3 separate regions of the Homo sapiens genome follow, and regions 1 and 2 are each linked to region 3. The links are contacts of gene promoters, found by promoter capture Hi-C in blood cells and fetal thymus (Javierre and others, 2016). All regions are on one chromosome and are shown on one strand. The core of a region is centred on a gene start or on the middle of the fragment in contact, and the rest is flanking DNA. Distances in the headings are between cores, read along the strand shown.

Region 1 (3,993 bases), core at 975-3,474, 350 kb before region 3:
CCAGAATTCTGCTTGTCCCCCTGGCTTCATGCCCTCCTCGGGAGATTTATGTAAATCGTGGCATCTTGTGCTGCCCCTGCAGACCTGTCACCTGGGAAGGGCACAGCCCTTTACAATCCTCTCCTGACTGGGGATTTGCAGCAGTAATCTCCATCCACAAGAAAATAAAATCCCAAGAAGTGACCTTCACTTGGACGTCCCTTCCATCTGCAGGGCAGATATAAGCTAGCTATTTGGGCGTCATTAATGTTGTTTTGGGCTTCAAACATGTCCTGCTGCTGGTGCCAATGCCCTGAGTTCAAGTTCCCTTTGGACTTGCCAGCCTCACTGGGAAGAAAAAAAAACCACCCTTAGGAATAACTGAACCCCTAACCTCAGCCAGGTAGGGTCGAGTCAGACAGAAAGAAGAGGTGAGGGAAAGCGGCTGCCTCAAGGCAGGCTGCCCTTTCCCTGAAAAGTCACTCGAGCCCCAGGTTGGTGGGTGTGTTGGGAAGAGCAGCCCGCTGGAGCCAGTGCACAGGCTGTTCCCTCCGACACAGTGGTCGAGAGTCTCTCTCTCACCAGCACCTCCCACAGCCCATCGCAGCATTTTACTTTTACATATGCCAAGAATACTTTAGAAATGCTTTATCACATTGCACTATCATGACTCGCTAAGTAAACACCAGCAAGCATTTAATGAGTACCTGCTGCATGCCAGCTACCAGGCAGGGCTAGGAGGTGACTTCCAAAATTACCTATTCTATTCCAGTGCTCATTTAAAAGATGGGCAAGCCAAAGCGCAGAGTGACTAGTGACCTGCCCAAGGTCACAAGACCTTGAACAACAGAACCAAAACTTCACCCTAGATCTCATGACTTCCCCTTCCTATGCTCTTTCCAACATATCCAGACAAACATCTTGGGAATGGATGCTCAGGGTTGAAAGGTTGGAAAACAAGGGAACTAACTAGGAAATTTAAACTTCTGGGACTGAATCCATCTACTTTGAATGAATGGGACAAATAGCCAAATAGTACCTCAGTGTTTGTGATCTATGAATGACTTCCATCCCTCTGTATAAAGTGGACACACATTGCTGCCTGGCTCTTCATCCCAAGGGGCTCCTATCCAAACAGCTTATATAAATTGATACCTTCCTACCACCTTAGCCAATGTTAGGTTGAACCCTATGAAGTTGTCATTTTTTATGGGTCAAAGAGGTAGAATATTAGCAATTTCATATGGTTCCACCTGATACACCCTCACATACGCAGCAATAAGTTGTGCACCCGATGGAGAGGAAAAGGCACTGGGTGCGGGGAGAGGGGCTGGTCAGAGGCCTGAGCCTCAGTGTCCCCAATATATTCATAGCTCTGACCCCAGGACTGGAAGCCACTCACTCTTTGACTTCTTTGGAGGAAAAGTCCAGGTAGCGATTGCTGATCCACTGAATCTCAAACCAGTCCCGAAAACCGTTGTTGCCGCAGCATTTGAACTCGATCTGCAGCATGTCGATGGTCTTCTTCATGAAACACCTGCCAGGGGTGTCTGTGTCCCGGTAGTACTTCATGCCGTTCTTGAGCCCTTGGCCCAGGGTGTTCTCCAGCGAGCCCCGAAGCAGAAAGCAGCAGAGAGCCACAAGGAAGAGGATGATGTTGAAGAGAACACAGATAGCCAGGTACGGCTTCAGCCAGGGCTTCCATCTGGCATACTTGGCTGGGTCCAGGGCGTCGTAGCAGATCTTCCCAGCCAGCGAGTTGAAGACACAGGATAGCACCCCCATCCCTATCAATGAGTTGGGCACAAAATGGCTCTCAGAATTATTCATCACATCGCTCCTCTTTCGGAGTTCAATCTTCAGGAACAGTCCTAGGCTGAAGATGATGATGCCAGCCAACACGGAGAACCAGTTCATGAGCCAGAGCCCTTGGGCCAACTTGACCCGCTTCTTCTGGTCAAACTTGACTTTCAGTAGCGCCATGCTTGCCAAGTGTAGTCCGGGTTGCTTCCCACAGCACAGCTCCCACCCCAAACCTTAACGAGCCCAGAGGCGGAGACTTAGGGCCTTGGGAAAAGTGCAGATGGCCCAAGCTGTAGGGAGCTGCCCTGGGGGCTACCCATGTCGAGTCCCACTAGCCTGGGATCCCCGTGAATGCAGTAGTGGTGGCAGGGGTCTCGGAATCACAGCTTGAGCAGGGGATAGTCCTGGTCCTGGGCGTTGTTTCTTCAGCGCCCTTCCCAGCCAAGAAGGGGCAGCCTGAACGCTGCAGATTAAAAGTGGGATCCACAAGACATTTTGCTAATCTCTTTAGCCAGGTTCATCCCATTAGATAAAGCCATGCCACTCTCAAAACATGGTCAAAAGCAGCCTCCAGGTACATGCTGAACCAGAAAGCTCTGGGTACAGCTTGGAGAATCAGGAGCAAAGGGCAAGACTGGCCAGAAGAATGGGCTGTATCTGGATGTCTGGCTCAGACCGTGTTGCTCCCCAAAAGCATATTTCCAGGCCAATCTCCTTCAACATTTAAAACTTTCTGTAGGACAAATAAATTGTTATCCTCTCTGAGAAAAGAAATGACAGGGCCAGGCACAGTGGATCACGCCTATAATCCCAGCACTTTGGGAGACCAAGTTGGGTGGATCACTTGAGCCCAGGAGTTCAAGACCAGCCTGGGCTACATAGGAAGACCCCATCTCCACACACACACACACACACACAAAAAAAAAAAAAAAAAAATTAGCTGGGTATGGTGGCATGCACCTGTAGTTCTCCCAGCTACTCTGGAGGCTGAGGTGGCAAGATCACCTGAGCCTGGGGAGTTCAAGGCTGCACTGAGCCATGATCGTGCCACTGCACTCCAGCCTGGGTGACAGAGTGAGGCCCTGTCTCAAATTTTAAAAAGACAAAGAAAAGAAGAGAAGAAGGAAGGAAAGAAAGAAAGTGACAGATCGTGAGAAAACATTTGCAACTTGTAAAATTAAAAAGTAATATACAGTGGCCAGGCATGGTGGCTTATGCCTGTAATCCCAGTACTTTGGGAGGCCAAGGCAGGTGGATCGCTTGAGCCCAGGAGGTGGAGGTTGCACTGAACTGAGATCCCCACATTGCACTCCAGCCTGGGTGACAGTGAGACTCTGTCTGGAAAAAAAAAAAAAAGAATTAATATGCAAAAATGTTTTAAGTCTCACAAATTCACAATAAACAAAAATTCACAATCAAAAGACCAATAATCAACTGGAAAAATAGGCAAAAACCAGGAACAGACAATTCATAATTAGGAAACTTGAAAAGTCCAATAATCTGGAAAAGATCTCAACTTGGGTAATAAGCAGGAAAATGCAAATCCAAACAACAATAAAATACCAAACTTGGCCGGGCACAGTGGTTCACACCTGTAATCCCAGCAGTTTGGAAGGCCAAGGTGGGTGGATCACTTGAGGTCAGGCATTCAAGACCAGCCTGGCCAACATGGTGAAACCCTGTCTCTACTAAAAATACAAAAATTGTCTGGGTATGGTGACAGGCACCTGTAATCCCAGTTACTTGTGAGGCTGAGGAAGGAGCATCAATTGAACCCGGGAAGTGGAGGTTGCAGTGAGCCAAGATTGCGCCATTGCACTCCAGCCTGGGTGACAAGAGTGAAATGACGTCTCAAAAAAAGAAAAAGACCAAACTCGATCCATCAAATTGAATGTATGTCAAAATTCTGTCACCATACATCAACAAAGAGAGTGGAAGTAGAAGTGTACACTCTTGGTGAATCTGTACATTTATTATTATTATTAATTAATGGATTATTTCTTACAGTAGTTTTAGGTTTACAAAAAAATTGAACAGAAAATACAGGGAGTTCCCATTATTCTCCATCTCCCCAACCAGTTTCTCCTCTAATTAATATCTTGCATTAATGTGGTACATTTGTTACAATTAATGAACCAATATTGATGCACTATTATTAACTAAAGTCTATAGTTTACATTAAGGTTCAGTCTTTGTGCATATAATTCTGTC
Region 2 (3,750 bases), core at 1,222-3,721, 420 kb before region 3:
GTGCTGAGATTACTGGCATGAGCTATGGTGCCAGGCCCTTTTTCACTTCCTTGTAGTCATGTACTGTAATGTATCTAACCTCTTCCCTATAATACATAGCTTCCAGATTTTCTCTTATAAACAAATATTGAAAATCCTTGTACATACAGCATTAACAAATGTATCTTTGACTGTGAAAGTGTTTCTTTGAGGATTAGCTAGATCAAAATGAAAGCTTGTATTACATTTTGGTACATACCTCCTAATTGCCTTCCCAAAAAAGTCCTCGATTTACACTCTGACTAGAAGTGTATAAAGAGTGCCCTGCAACTTTGTCAACACTTTAATATGAGCAGTCTTTTAGTACCTTATTTTAATTTGCGTTACTCTAAGTGAAGTTGAGCTTCTTTTCATGTGTTTATTGGCCGTTTATTTTTTCATACTTTAATGCATTTTTCTTTATGGTTGTTTGTCCCTATCTTATTGTTCCGAAAGTATTATATATTAGAAATGTCAATTCTTATTTAATACATCACAGTACTTTCTTCCAGTCTCCCTTGTTTTTTAACTTTCTGTTTTTAAAACTCTGTCTCAATTGGCTTCTGGGTTTTATAACTTGCTTAGGAAAGTTCTCTAAACCCCAATAGTGTACCTGCTTTTTTCTGCTTAATAGAACAACACGGAAGTCTTTACATGTGAAAATAGAGAAATTATCACTGTTAATGGTGTTCAGTTGTTTGGAGATGTTGTAATTTGTTATTTCACGTTATTAGACTTTTTAATTGTTGCCACTGCAGTGTCCATCACGTTCACTTGTCTAGTTAGGATAAATTCCAAGTGGGCATGCTAAATAAAACAGATGCATGTAGAACTCGGATTTAGACTGCCAAATCAACCCACTGAAAATAGTTGTAGCTTAACACCCACCAGCAGTATATGAGAGCTCTGCTTTCTTGTTCTAATATCCAAGACTATCTCTCATAAATTAGTGTATGGCTTTGGTAATAATATTCTAAGGTCCTTTCTTTCACAGGAAACCTGGATTAACAGGACGAGGCATGTATGAACTGAAACCAGAATGTGCCAAAGAGTTCAACTTGTATTTCTATCACTTTTCAAGGGCAGAACAGTCCAAGGTAATTGGGAAAATTAAAAATGTAGCAGGGAAGGATTGCATTGTTTTTCTTAAGAGATGAGGTTTCACCATGTTGCCCAGGCTAGAGTTTGGTGGCTATTCACAATGCCATTATAGAGCATTGCAACCTCAAACTCCTGGGCTCAAGCAATTCTCCCACCTCAGCCTCTTGAGTAGATGAGATTACAGGCATGCACCACTGTATCTGGCTTGAATTTTTTTTTCCTAAACAACTTTTTTACTGCTTTTGCAGATTGAAAAATGATACATTTTTATTGTAGGGGATTTGGAAAATATAAAATATAAAGAAGAAAGTAGAAATTACTTAAAATACCCTCACCTAACATTTTGGAGTTACCCCCTAGCGTTTTGTACATATGTATATACGATCTATATAATACATACCTTTACGTATATGGGTATAGTTTTTTAAAACAAATTTTCAACCTGTATTATAATCAGTTAATCCATTTTATGCACATTTCAGAATTGGTATTATTTAACACTTTTTCATAGAGATTCATGGAGCTTTTCTAATCATTCCTAGGTAATTAAATTTTGCCTTTTTGGTGGGGCATGTAATCCCAGCACTTTGGGAGGCTGAGGCGGGCAGATCGCTTGAGCTCAGGAGTTCGAGATCAGCCTGGCCAACATGTTGAAATCCCATGTCTACTAAAAATACAAAAATTAGCCAGGCATGGTGTCATGCACTTCTCGTCCCAGCTACTCAGGAGGCTGAGATAGGAGGATCACTTGAGCCCAGGAGGTCAAGACTGCAGTGAGCTATGATTGCACCACTGCATTCCAGCTTGGATGATGGGAGTGAGACCGTATCTCAAAAAAAAAAAAAAAATCTGCCTTTTAGCAGTCTCCTCTTAAAATGGTTTTTCAATAAACAGCATTAAATAAAACTTAAACATAAAGCTTTTATTTAGTTTTTGATGAAGTCATAGAGTTCAAACTTAAATAAGTTTGTACTTATTTAAGTACATGTTTCCCTTCTAATTTAAAGTAATAGAGAACTCGTTTGGAGATTCTTTTAGTTAAAAAAAAAAATTAACCTTGATGTATCCGTTTGGGGGAGGACTAGAACTTAAAGATAGATATCTTTTTTATTTTTTATTTTTTTTGAGATAGGGTCTCACTCTGTTACCCAGGCTGGAGTGCAGACCTCGGCTCACTAGAGCCCCTGCCTCCCAGGTTCAAGCAATTATCCTGCCCCAGCCTTCTGAGTAGCTAGGATTACAGGTGTGTGCCACCACGCCCAGCCAATTTTTGTATTTTTAGTAGAGATGGGGATTCTCCGCGTTGGCCAGGCTGCTCTCGAACTCCTGACCTCAGGTGATCCACCTGTCTTGGCCTCCCAAAGTGCTGGGATTACAGGTGTGAGCTGCCACGCCCCGGCCTCTGTTGTGTTATTTTCTGATTTTAGATGTTCATCCTTGGCCAGACACATTGGCTCATGCCTGTAATCCCAGCACTTTGGGAGGTTGAGGTGGGCAGATCACAAGGTCAGGAGTTCAAGACCAGCCTGGCCAACATAGTGAAACCCCACCTCTACTAAAAATATAAAAATTAACCAGGTGTGGTGGTGGGCATTACTAATTCCCGGTCCAAATAACTTTATTTTTTATTAGGCAGAAGAAGCGCAACGGAAATTGAAAAGACAAAATAGAGAAGATACAGGTATTTTTAATCTTTCTGAAAATGTCTTGCCCATCTTTTTTGCTTGTTAAACATTGTTTTCTGTTAACTATGATGATTGTCCTTGGTGGAATGAATATTTAAATGTAAGCTTTCCTAGTGAATAACCTCCTATTCAGAGGAATAATAAATATGTTAACACAGAAATAGTTTGTGCTAAGTCCTCTGGGTTGATGTTATCTCAGATCTTAAGACCTTTCTAGGGGAAAAGATAGACTTTCTTCTGTACTGCTGCTACTTTCGTGGCTCTTTTTATGCATTTGACCTTGAGAATGTAAAATAATAGCTTTAAGGTGTGTGTTAATGAATATTCTTTGAGTTAAAACTATCAAAAGTAACAAAGAGATAGTTTCTAAAGCATGTTCTGTAAAAGAAACCAATAATAACAACTGTATTTTCAGCACTCCCACCTCCGGTGTTGCCTCCATTCTGCCCTCTGTTTGCAAGCCTGGTTAACATTTTGCAGTCAGATGTCATGTTGTGCATCATGGGAACAATTCTGCAATGGGCTGTGGAACATAATGGATATGCCTGGTCAGAGTCCATGCTGCAAAGGGTAGGTTTGAAGACATTTATTATTTATATTTTAGTATTTTATAGTACAAGCAAAATATTCTTGTCTGTATCTATACACAGGAAAACTAGGCCGAAATGTATTGTGTTTTCCTAACTTGAATATATTGTTACTGCTTTTGTGTCTGACAGTAAAAACAAGTGCCAGACAGATTTTTTTATACCACATGGTTGTTATTACCTCAGTCCCACTGGGCAGTTGTTCTCTCCTAGATTGGTCCTTGTCTTTATATATGTAGTATTCTGATATTGATATAATGTGTTATCTTTTATATATGTTTCTAATCTAATTATTTTCCAAAACAAAAATTTTTTTTGAATCATCCATATCCTTATTTTGTAGTTGAAGAAACTGACAC
Region 3 (3,708 bases), core at 1,166-3,665:
TAGCAGCAACATGAAGCGAGCAGCCTCCTTGAACTATCTGAACCAACCTAGTGCAGCACCCCTCCAGGTGAGAGCAGTGCTTGTGAGCATATTGGTGGGTGAGGAAAAAAGGACAGCCAGTGAGCAAGCCCAGTGGAGTAAGGGAAGAGGGAAGGGAGAGGAGTCATCTGGGATGAAGATGAGCCAGGGGATTGCAGTCATTAAGGAATCAGGCAGATAGCTTGTGGTGAGTGCTGACCACCAAGGGACAGTTTCAGGCCAGACATAGTAGCAAATAAGTTAATAAGGAGGGAAATAGGAATATTCTGTAAACTGGTACTTTGGAATTATGAATAATTTAAGAATTATTTGGAGATACGAATTATTTTTTCATCCTGCAGCCGCCTTAGTAGTAGATGAGAATGGAAAAAGAAAAGTATTAAATAATCCCCATCTGAGAAAACACTAGTGATATTTTAATGGCAAATGACTTCTTGTATCAACACACAAGTATATGCCAGTATTCATGTGGTTCTTCCAGGTAGCTTCTCCACCAGATTGTGGCCTTCTGGAAAACCCTAGCAGAGGCTAAACAAAGTCCCAGGTCCAGAGATAGACTGGTCCAGAGACAGATGTGATCCTAGGTCCAGAGATACACTGTGACCATGGGATGGATGGACTCTAGGAGCCAGTCTTTGGGAGGCCGAGGTCCCTGAGCTGATGGGGTAGTGTTGTCTGTTTCAGGTCTCCCGGGGCCTCAGTGCCAGCACCATGGACCTCTCTTCAAGCAGCTGACATTCAACCCGGCCCCCAGGTCTGCTGGGTCCCCCCACCCCCACAGCCCTCACAGCATTCCCCATTGCTCCTGGCTCTTCCCCACCCCTAGGTGGGACAGTGAAGGGGAGCAGTTTAACCAGAAGATTGCTGCTGCCCTTAGGGTCTCAGCTCCCTCCTCAGGAATCCCTCTTAGGAAGGACCCTCAGGACACCCTCTCTGCACCCTGTGGTCCTCTAGAGTAGCTAGCTCTGAGGCCCCAAGGTGGGTACAAAGCAGGTATGGCCCTCAGAGATGCAGCCTGCTGCTGGCTTTTCAGTCAGAGGGTTGGGGGCTGGCCAGCCAAGCTGCCTTGCCCTGGCCGCTCTTACTCCCTCCCTCTGCTGTCTCACTTCAGGTCCATGTATTTCACTTTTCTTAAATAAAAGAATCAGGTAACCTTTCTGTGACTTGAGTCCTGATTGAAGAGGGTATGAAGCAGGGCTTGTGTTGGGGCCCTTCACAGAAGGTGAGGGGCAGTGATGGATGGAGCAGCAGGAGGAGTGTTGATTCTTGGATCTCTCCTCTCTTCCTCCCGTTGTTTGTATCATCTCCAGCAGGGCCTGTAGGAAGGCATCTGGGGGATGGGGAAGAAGGAGGCTCACAACCCAAGGAGAAGGTGCTGTGGACTGGGTTGTCAGGGACATGTGGTGGCCATGTGGCAGGACCCTGGAGTCCTGGCGCCACTTCTCCTGGCTGTGAGGCCCTCTGTGGCTGCCATTCCTCCTCCCAGCTGCTTGGGGGAAGGGAGGTCTAAACAGGCCTGGGGGGCCCTCCGGAACCAGAGGGGAGACAAGGCACTATCCATCCCCTCTCAGCATATCTTGGAGGCCTGAGCAGCAGCTGGGGCCCATCTTCTAAAGCTTGACTCCTCCTGACCCGCCTCCTACACCCCTTGCTGCTTTCACAACAAAGAAAGAATGTGGGGGTGGTGGCGCTGGGGGTGGGGGTGCCTGGAACAAGGGTTGTGCTGGGCCTCCCCACAGCTGGAGACTTGGCCATACCCTGACACAGCCCAGACTGCCTGGAGATGGACTTGGGATGAATTTGTCAGTTAGCAGACTTCAGCCTGGCTTTCAGAGCCCAGCGTGTTTCTACCTTTGGGTTCAGATTGGTCTACAGCCAAACCAGACCCCAGTCATGCACACTTCAGCCCCTCTCCGGGCTACACAGCATCTTCAGGTTACTTGGGGACATTAAGGACACCCTGCTGTTCTGGGTCTGCCGTTAAGATTTTGGGTTGCTGAAGAGTTGGCGGGGCCCGCCTCTTCCCCTGCCCCCACCTGGAGAATTCTGGGGGAACTGTTGGCCAGAGCCTCCAGGTATGCCCAGAATGGACCATTCTCCCCAGGGTCCACGGAATCGCACAAGTCACTTAGGTTCTCCCGGATCCCTGCAGAGTCGGTGGTGGGTACAGCAAATACTCAGGTCCCCTGCACTTCCCTGAGCCTTGCTCTCTCTATTCTCCATCCCTCTCCAGACCCCTCCCCCTACTGAGCTCCTCCCCGCCTCGGCGAGGAGGGGGCGTCGAGGGGGCGGGGCGCCGTGCGGGGGCCGGAGGGGAGGGGGCGTCGTGGGGCGGGGCTTGGCGGCGGCGGCGGCGGCGCGCGGGGACTCGGAGGTACTGGGCGCGCGCGGCTCCGGCTCGGGACGCCTCGGGACGCCTCGGGGTCGGGCTCCGGCTGCGGCTGCTGCTGCGGCGCCCGCGCTCCGGTGCGCTCCGCCTCCTGTGCCCGCCGCGGAGCGCAGTCTGCGCGCCCGCCGTGCGCCCTCAGCTCCTTTTCCTGAGCCCGCCGCGATGGGAGCTGCGCGGGGATCCCCGGCCAGACCCCGCCGGTTGCCTCTGCTCAGCGTCCTGCTGCTGCCGCTGCTGGGCGGTGAGTACCCGAGAGTTGGGGGCACAGAGCTTGGGAAGCGCGGGAGTCCCGTGGGCAAAAGGCTGCGCCCGGGGCGGTGGGTTTGGGCGGCTGGAACGGCCCTGGAGTAGTGGAGAGGCTCGCTGGGGGTGCAGGCTTGCGGCGGAAGGGCGCAAGGAGCCCGGGTGTCGGGAGGCTGGCGAAGCCTCCAGGGACGCGGTCAGGGTACCCCTCCCACTCGCGCCGCGGGGACGCATTTCCAGCCTCCCTGAGTTTTTCTGGTCTGAGCCGAGAGTTTGCTCGAGAACTGCCGAGAGTTGCTGGCTCTCGGGCCCAGATGGGGAGTTTCTTGTCGGGGGAGAAAAGACCATCCGCACCCACCGTGGGGAGCGCGATGGAGAAAAAGGAATTCCCCACCCCACCCGGCAGGGTCGGCCCAGGTAAGAGTTGCTGGTTTGGGGCCCGATGCCGGACAGACCTGCGGCGCGCAAAGCGCGGAGCTTTGTTACCTACGCCGACCCGACGTTCCCGGCTTCCCTCCTCCGAGTTCCTGGGCAAAGCTGAGACCCCAGATGGCCCTGCGGGTGAGGGCGGAAGAAGGGAAGAGTTAGGGGCCGCCCCCATCCATGGCCTCTAGCTACTGGTCTGGAACCCTGCGCCCACTCCGTGCCAGGGCCGAATCCGGGGATCCGAGGGTCCCAGGCTGTCGCGGTGACTAATGTGTGAAGGCCGCTGCCAAAATCGGGCATGGCCTGGCTGCAAAGGTGCGGACGGGGTTTGTTCTGCTCCTTCCTGGATTTCCATCCTGACTGTCCTCACAGAGGAAAGGAAGTATTTCTAAGGGAAGAAAGGCAAAAAGAGCTCATTCTGGCTTTTCTTGGGGGGGGGCCTTAGCATTTTAACGAGGGTGTGGCCCTCATCACCAGGGCAGACAGCACCGCCCCCCCAACTCCCGCAGCTTTTATTTCCTGGCTTGGTCACACCTAAGAGTCATCACTGAGGTGTTGAAGTGCCTTACAGGAAAGCACCAAGCCACCCGCACATCCCAAATAGCCCGGAC

What was found. The method cuts DNA at HindIII sites, captures the fragments that hold promoters and counts their contacts. A CHiCAGO score of 5 or more calls a contact.
Region 1: a contact is called between the fragment with the promoter of PRPH2 here and the fragment with the promoter of PTK7 in region 3, in 1 of 17 cell types (neutrophils). The highest score is 6.9, in neutrophils.
Region 2: a contact is called between a fragment that was not itself captured here and the fragment with the promoter of PTK7 in region 3, in 1 of 17 cell types (naive CD4 T cells). The highest score is 5.8, in naive CD4 T cells.

What each region holds. Positions count from the first base shown.
Region 1 is chr6:42,720,373-42,724,365 of GRCh38, forward strand. PRPH2 (peripherin 2) reads right to left here and starts at 2,225. Exons shown (of 3, transcript NM_000322.5): 1 at 1,382-2,225. The coding sequence starts at 1,962. The HindIII fragment of the contact is 19,648 bases long and covers 1-3,993 here.
Region 2 is chr6:42,649,272-42,653,021 of GRCh38, forward strand. It overlaps UBR2 (ubiquitin protein ligase E3 component n-recognin 2), which reads left to right. Exons shown (of 47, transcript NM_001363705.2): 23 at 1,013-1,115; 24 at 2,752-2,800; 25 at 3,220-3,374. Among named protein-coding and RNA genes, the nearest start is that of PRPH2, 71 kb to the right of the region's middle. The HindIII fragment of the contact is 871 bases long and covers 2,037-2,907 here.
Region 3 is chr6:43,073,899-43,077,606 of GRCh38, forward strand. PTK7 (protein tyrosine kinase 7 (inactive)) reads left to right here and starts at 2,416. Exons shown (of 20, transcript NM_002821.5): 1 at 2,416-2,669. The coding sequence starts at 2,591. KLC4 (kinesin light chain 4) reads left to right here. Exons shown (of 16, transcript NM_201521.3): 15 at 4-67; 16 at 724-1,195. The coding sequence ends at 774. KLC4-AS1 (KLC4 antisense RNA 1) reads right to left here and starts at 2,332. Exons shown (of 2, transcript XR_002956347.1): 1 at 1,797-2,332; 2 at 435-1,369. RefSeq lists an enhancer at 1,551-2,074 and a silencer at 2,404-2,503. The HindIII fragment of the contact is 8,069 bases long and covers 1,654-3,708 here.